2 separate regions of the Homo sapiens genome follow, and region 2 is linked to region 1. The links are contacts of gene promoters, found by promoter capture Hi-C in blood cells and fetal thymus (Javierre and others, 2016). All regions are on one chromosome and are shown on one strand. The core of a region is centred on a gene start or on the middle of the fragment in contact, and the rest is flanking DNA. Distances in the headings are between cores, read along the strand shown.

Evidence for each region. Contacts are between HindIII fragments. The CHiCAGO score rates a contact against its expected background, and 5 or more counts as called.
Region 2: a contact is called between the fragment with the promoter of FBXO11 here and the fragment with the promoter of PPM1B in region 1, in 1 of 17 cell types (fetal thymus). The highest score is 7.8, in fetal thymus.

The regions. Positions count from the first base shown.
Region 1 is chr2:44,166,801-44,170,555 of GRCh38, forward strand. PPM1B (protein phosphatase, Mg2+/Mn2+ dependent 1B) reads left to right here and starts at 2,075. Exons shown (of 6, transcript NM_002706.6): 1 at 2,075-2,474. PPM1B-DT (PPM1B divergent transcript) reads right to left here and starts at 1,992. Exons shown (of 2, transcript XR_940034.3): 1 at 498-1,992. RefSeq lists silencers at 1,776-2,105, 2,426-2,635. The HindIII fragment of the contact is 4,313 bases long and covers 372-3,755 here.
Region 2 is chr2:47,905,248-47,908,782 of GRCh38, forward strand. It overlaps FBXO11 (F-box protein 11), which reads right to left and starts at 1,251. Exons shown (of 23, transcript NM_001190274.2): 1 at 242-1,251. The coding sequence starts at 473. It overlaps LOC100506235 (a long non-coding RNA gene), which reads left to right and starts at 303. Exons shown (of 2, transcript NR_187636.1): 1 at 303-552; 2 at 2,071-2,920. RefSeq lists silencers at 24-73, 84-203, 564-753, 1,244-1,343 and an enhancer at 1,413-2,197. The HindIII fragment of the contact is 3,894 bases long and covers 1-2,356 here.

The DNA of each region.
Region 1 (3,755 bases), core at 825-3,324:
GCGCCATAGCCTTAATTGCAGAAATGATCCACACTGCTAGTCTGGTTCACGATGACGTTATTGACGATACAAGTTCTCGAAGAGGAAAACACACAGTTAATAAGATCTGGGGTGAAAAGAAGATACGGTTTTTTGGTTTTTTAAAATCTCTCTTACCGAATCACATGCTTTTTGGACCGCGTTTGCTTTTTCAGATTTGTCTTATTAAAAAGTAAAATATGCTTGCTCAAAAAACAAAAAAACCCGAATTGCAATTAAGTCTTTGTTTCTGCCGTCCTTATGACGGCCTGGACAATTGTCCTATTACTAAATTTGCCCTTTTCTATAAAACATTGACAGCCCCTAACCTGAATAGCACTCTGTTGGGTCTAAGCTTAAATTGTCTGCCCAAACCATTTTACACCAAAGTAGGAAATAGGTTTAAGTTCTTTTAGGACATTCGGATTAAAAAAAAAATATATATATATATATATATCCTAAGGTAAGTATTAGAATACCTCTATTACACTTTTGTTTCTCGTTTGGAGAATTAACATGGCAGCATCGTCTAATTTGATAGCTGGAGGAGTCATGTCCACTTTCCCCATCGGCCTGTTAAACCCCTATCATTCATTCTTGACTCATCCTGTGTCTTTGTGAAGCCTTTCTTGGTAAACCTATGCACAAGGAAGACCCTTTATGTCGTCACCAGCCCTTGTGCATGTTTCAATTGTAGTACCTATCATCTTGTACTGCGATTGCCTAATTTATTTTTGTATCTCCAGTTCTACATACAGTACCTGGCAAACAGTAGGCGCTCAATAACTGCGAAATGAACAAGTCCATGTCAAGAGACTAGGCTGGGAGTTTTAATATCAATGCCGACTGAGAAACAAAATACGGAAATGTCAAGGGCTGGTATAAAAATAATCTCTAATAGCACAAAATCCTCCTGAAGGGAACACCTGTCCCACTTTCTCACGTTGCTTTCCAGGTTCTTCCGACACCCCAATTTCCCGCCCACTCTTCTCCCTCCGGGGTACAGGTCAGGCAGGTATCCCAGCTCGGCGGCTCTGATAGGTCGGCGATGATTTCATTGTTAGGGAACATCCGGGCCTTTCCCCTCCCCGCAACACCTCCCCAGAGCCCGGCCTTCCCAGTTTCCCACTCTCGCCTGCGCCCCACCCGCGGCTGAAGCAAAACAACCGCCTCTCCCCTGCCCACTTCTTGTCCTCGTCTGAGTCGTCCCTTCCCGTCTCCACGCCGAAGAGAGGCGTTTAGATCCTCCAATGAGGGCCTAGGAGGACTTTCTTAGCCAATCAGTAGCCAAGCCCCTGCAATTCCGGGTGGGACCAGGCGTCCACACCTATAGCTGGACTGCTCGTTGGTCCCTTATGGCGCTTCTTTTACGCGAGGCTTAGAGGTCAAATACAAGGGGGCACGGTCCTCACAGAACGGAAAGGATCCGTACAGACTCTCCGGGTTTGACCGTTTTCTAGGACGAACCAATCGCTTTCCAGATACTTCCCCGCCTTTTGCGCGTTCATTTGAAAAAAGCCGGTGTGACGGACTTGGAAATTGGCTCAGTGACTGACCCGCAAGAAAGCCAGTGACTGGGGGTTCGGATCACGAGTTGGACCAATAAGAAAAGACAATCGCTGGGGCCGGGGCTTTGCTAGGAGGAGCGCAGGTGGGCGTTATTTGATTGACGGAGGGCTCTACTTATGGCTGGTAGCGGGGGCTGGTCCCTGACGTTCGGGAGGTAGGACCTAGCGGAGGCGGGGCCGAATAAAGTAAATGGTAATAAAGGGTTGGGTCTCACTTAGTGGGCGGTGTTTGATGGACAGCTGACCTTGCCTATTGAAAGTAGCCACTGATGCCCAATGGGAAATTAGAAACCCAGAGGCGGGGCCGGGTGGGCGGGGTAAACGAAGTACGGAGGTGCCGAGGGAGCAGCACGGGGAGGGGGAGCGGTGATTGACAAGACTCCCAGCAAACCGGGGGCCGTGAGAGGGCGCGCGGCATCCCAGTGGGTGGCAGCTGGAGGCGGGGCACCCTGAGGGGCGGGGAAGGACTAGGGTGCGGGGAGGGGGTTGCAAAAGGAGCCGAGCGGCTTCTGCTCAATGGCGGAAAAGCCGCCGGTGCTCTGACGGCCTCGTTCCCCTAGCAGTTGCGGGGGAGTTTCCTGCCGGCGCGGCTGGAGTCTCTGATTCTCAGGGTTCGGTGGTTGGAAGATGCTCCAGAGAGACGAGGCTGCGGCGGAGGAGGTGGCGGCGGCCGAATCGGCAACGGCGCTAGGGTGGAGAGAAGGCGGCATCGGCGGCGGCGGCGGCGTGAGGGGCCGGGCGGTGTAAACAGCCCCGGAGGCGGCGGTCGAGACCCCGAGGGGGAAGCGGCGGCTGAGTCAGGGTCGCGCCTCCGTTGGAAACTTGGGCTGAGTACCGCGGCGGGCGCGAGCGAGGCGCCCTAGACATCTTCTCCCTCCCTTGCCTCAGGTAAGGCCGCCCGGCACCCCGCCGGAGGGGAAGCGGCTGACCGGCCGCGCCGCCGAGGCCCCGGGCCCTGGGCAGGTTTTCGCGGTGCTGCCGAGCCGCGGCCGGGGCCTCTGTCCTTCCGAATCCTCGCTGCTTTCCCTGCTGCCGCGGAGCCTAGGCAGGGGAACGCCGGGCCTGGCTCTCGGGTATAGGCCCCTTCCCCGGCCGCCGCCTCCGCTGGGCTGAGGTCTGGGAGAGGCGCAGGGAGAGAATGGGAGTTTGCTGGAACGCCTGGAAGCTGACTGATTCTCTCTTCCCTCCGCTTCAGTCTGCAAGCATCTCTTTCACACGAAAGCACTGGGGCTACCCCAAGCCTTGGCGCTTCTCTTCCTGGTGCATGCCCTGTTTGAAAACACTATCTTTTACCATTCGTTTCCTCATCAGCTTCTGCCCTACTCTGCGCTCCACTTCACTTCCTTGTTAAATCGTCTTTCTCTGCTGTCTATGCGTTCTACCCTCGCCTTCCCTCCTTAGTGGCTTTAAATTGTGTGTTTCTCTTTTCTTCGTACCCCGGCATCTCTTGCCTGTCTTCCCTAGCACCATCCTTTTCGGATGTCATTCCTAACAGTGAAGTTCTTAATTGAAACTGCCACTTATTGTCAGTACCCCAAATCTACCGGAGCCCCATTAAGAGTATAGACTGACTAGCCATATGTGGTAAATCAGTTTTTCATAGTTTAAGCCTAACAACCTTGAAAAAATTGTATTATTAAACGTAAAGTGTGAAAATAACACCGAAAATAATTTTTTAAATGAAGGACTCAGTGAGTGTTGGAAATAGTTATTTCTTCATTTTTTAAACTTGCATGACCTCTCATATCAGATTTAGCAGATCTGGGACGTTTGCCCATCTTATTCGGCAAAAAAAGTGCTTCTTAGGCGTTTGATAGCAGCCCAAATTCATCAATATTCAATTTCTTCTAAGAACAACTTGAAAACTTTTTTAAAAAGAGACGTTAATAACTGGGAAGTTGTTTTGATAGTCACAGTTAAAGAGCTTTTAAAATAGGCTCCACATGTTTAATGTATCAAAATAAAGTTGGCAGGCATGTTGTAAAAGGATTATTTAGGAATTTGAGTAGTCTTAGTGTTATGTAGCTATTTTAGGAAAAACATTCTTTTTCTGTTAACAAACGTTTACAACTACGGTGATGTGAGAATTACTGAGGCTTACTGTGGGATTAACACAGGAACTGTCTTTATTTGAGCTACTGCATGGATGAAGAAGTGGTAAATTGTTCA
Region 2 (3,535 bases), core at 1-2,500, 3.7 Mb after region 1:
AAACCAAACAAAGCGCGGCCTGAGCGAGAGCCCAGGCGAGAAGGGAAGCCGCGGCTTTTCCTGCCGGCCGGGCCCGGCCCGGGCTGACACTGCGGCACCGGGGGACCCGCCTCCGCTCAGCTTGGGTCTCCCACCCCCAGGGCGCGCAGGCCGCCCCCGCCCGCCCGCCCGCCCGCCCGCCCCGGCCTCCCTTCCCGCGGTGCCCGGGAAGGCGGGCGGTTGGGAGGTAGCGCGGCCTTACCCCGCTCGCCGACGTTGTTCCGCTCCTGAGGCAGCGGCGGAGGCGGCGGTGGCGGCGGCGGAGGCTGCTGCTGCTGCTGCTGCTGCGGCGGCGGCGGAGGCTGCTGCTGGGGCGGCTGCTGCTGGGGCGGCTGCGGCGGCGGCTGCTGCGGGGGCTGCTGCTGCTGTTGCTGCACCGGGCGCGGCCGCGACACTCGCCTGGGTCTCCGGTTGGCGGCTCGGACGGAGTTCATTTGCCGGGCTGAGGTGGCGGCGTTGGCGGAGGGACACACACACGCACACGCACAGCGAGCTTCGGGGCAGGAGAAAGGGGTGGGGAGAGTGGGAGAGGGGGGAGGAAGGAGAGGGGGCGAGGGGAAGGGGAGACGCTGAGGGCGGAGGGGGCGAGCGGGACCCCGAGTCCGGAGAAAGGCCCGGGTAGACAGACGGAGACCGAGCGAGGCCGGCCGGGAGGGCCTGACGCACGGGGAAGGCCGAAGCCGCCGGGCGGGGCGGCCGCGAGGGACGAAGGCAGAAAGACGGGCAGACCGAGAGAAAGAAAGAAAGGGCGTCCGCCGCTTGGGGATCCCGAGGCGAAGCGCGGCGGCGGCGGCGGCGGCGGCTGAAGAGACAGATCCCGGTCCCGCCGACTCGCGAGCGGCGTCTCCGGCAGCGGGGGGAGTGGGCGGGCGGGTGAGGAAGGGAGAAAAAGAGAGGGAGAGAAGGGAGGGAGGGAGCAGGGGGCGCCCGGCTCTTTTTTTTCCCTCTTCCTCCCCCCCACACCCCCTGAAAGAGATTTCTGTGAGGAATTTTTCTCTCTTTCTTCGGTCTCTTCTCTCTCCTCCCCCCCTTCTCTCCTCGGCGAAGGGGAAATGAGTGTGAAGGGAGGAGATAGGGGGAAAAAGAGGCGTCGTCCTTCCTCCTCCTTAAAGGAACCTTTCCTCCTCCTCCTCGTCAGCCCTGTCGCCGCTGCTTCTGCTGCTGCTCCGTGGCAGGAGGAGCCATTGACACCGCCGGAGCCTCCACTCGCCCAGTCGGTCCCTCCCCGCCGCGGGGCTGGCCGGGGGCGCGGGGGAGGGCCGCGGGGCGGCGGGGGGAGGGGTGGGTGGGCGGGGAAAGGAGGGGCGGGGATTCCGTCCAGGCGGCCAATCTAAGGCGCCCGTACAACCTTCCGGCCAATGGGGCCTCCGCTCTTATCGCGAAGTCCCTTCAACGCCCTGTTTCCTCTCTCGGGTTTCCTCCCTCCCCCGCCTAGGAGGGGGAAAGAGGAAAGGGGGAGTGTGGCGGGGCGGGTGATAATGGGGAGGTATCAGGGCAAATAATAGAGCAGGGGGTGGGCGAAGAGAGCGCCAGTGCGTAGCGACGATTCTGGGAGAGGAGGTGCTCGGAGGAAAGGGCGGGGGTTGCTGATGTAATGGGGAGAAGTGATTAATCCTTCGGTTCGCCGTTTCAGCTTCCCCCCTACCCCAACCTTCACCCGATTTTTTTGAGCTGAAAAAAAAGTGGAACGAGGGAGCCAATCTTTGGTAACTCGGGTTTTCTGTGGTAGGTGGGTTCAAAATCTGAGCTGTAGGGAGCGCTAGAGATTTCGTGCCCTTTAGCCAAGCTGAGGGTATTTGCAAACCCTGAAGATTTCCGTCTCCGAGCTTTGGGCTTGGTAAGCGAAGTTTGGAGTCGGTGCCTAATCGTATATCATCTAAACCTTGAAAAGGCTTTGACCTTTGGCCAATTTGATTTGTTCTTTGAAGAAGTGTATACAATGTGTGGGAAAATAATATGTGAGAGGAGAGAAGTAAATGTGTTGATGTTGTGATTGTTTATGTGATTTAATTTTTAATTTTTTTTTTTTAGGTCCCACAAACTGCAAGGAAAAGAAAAACCCTCAACAGGAATTACCTTTATACCTGATGCCCCCAACATAATCTCTCTCCAAGGGAAACGTGTTTTTATTGCCTTGCGGCTGAAAATGTATTCTCGATTCTCCCCCTTCTCTCTTTTGTTGTGCATTTTTTGGATGTGGTAAAACTGGCAGTTTATCTGATTATCTGGTTTTCAGAACTTTGGGCGATGTCTCTGAGTGTCATCAGTTGCTCTCTAGGTTTGACATAGATAATTAAGCAACTACAAAGCGTGATAAAGCTTTTGAGAGGGAGGAAAATGTATTTTGGAAGGAGGGAGAGACGCAAAGAGGCGAGCCTGTGTGTTGAGTCCCAGACTTGGTGTGTGACTACAGGCAAAGTACTTCACCTTTCTAGATGTCAGCCCCGCCCCCCTCACCTCCCAAGTTTAAATAAGAACTTATTTTAGACTACATGATCCTGTTTTCAATTTTTAAGAGTTCTGTGATTTTGAGATGATCTCTCTTTAGTCCAGAAAAATAGAGAAACGTAGGTCTATGTTTGTTTCTCAAAAAAATATTTGAGGAGGACAGCTGTTACAAAACAGCTGGAGAACTCCAAATTTTTATGGTGGTTAGCTAGGTGCAAATGGGTACAATTTTAGGTTTGTTCAAATAAACATAGGGGAAAAGTAAAAGTACAGGAAAATTACGTTATACATATAAGTGTGTCCATCATTTCTGATTTTTCTAAAAATTTACTTTTTTATTTGACAAGTACTTTTTGGCTCCTTCCGTGTATGCATTAATATGTATATAAGGTGTTATGGGAAATACTAATAAAAGGAAAATATTGGGCATAAAGAGTTTGTATTTTGGTGTGGCAGAGTGGAAGTTTTACTTACATTAATTCAGATGTAAAGAAAATGTAGCTTGTTTATTTTCTGTAATTTTAACTTCAAGTCCCCACATCATCTCAATTTTTTAAAAAACATAACTGCTTTCACCTTTTATTTCCCCAACTCTCCTTCTAATATATTAATGGGAGGGGCGGGGTTTAGGGTTGTTATATGTGGTATAAGGGGTATCTTTTACATACCCTAGATTTCTAAGTTTATTGCAACAATTCTCTGACATATGGCAGTAAAATGCCTTGTTTTAGCAAAATTAGTATATTATGACAATTTCCTGATAGATGGTAGTAAAGTGTCTTGAGAAAGGAAGCACCTTTTTCAAATTCACAGAGTAACTGGTAGGGTGGTAGCATCCCTGAGGAATAGGGAGGTTTACAAGGGCATCTAAGCCACTAATGCCAGTCCTTATGTTGTCTTCTGGCGTGGAGTGGCTAGTATTGTCTGATGGCAGCCACTGTCGTTTATCATTTATTACTCATAAAACTGGTCATTTCTGTACTTTTGAGGCTGATTTCTTTTGCTGAAATCCATACATGAGCCATTTGCCCCATACACTATAACCTCT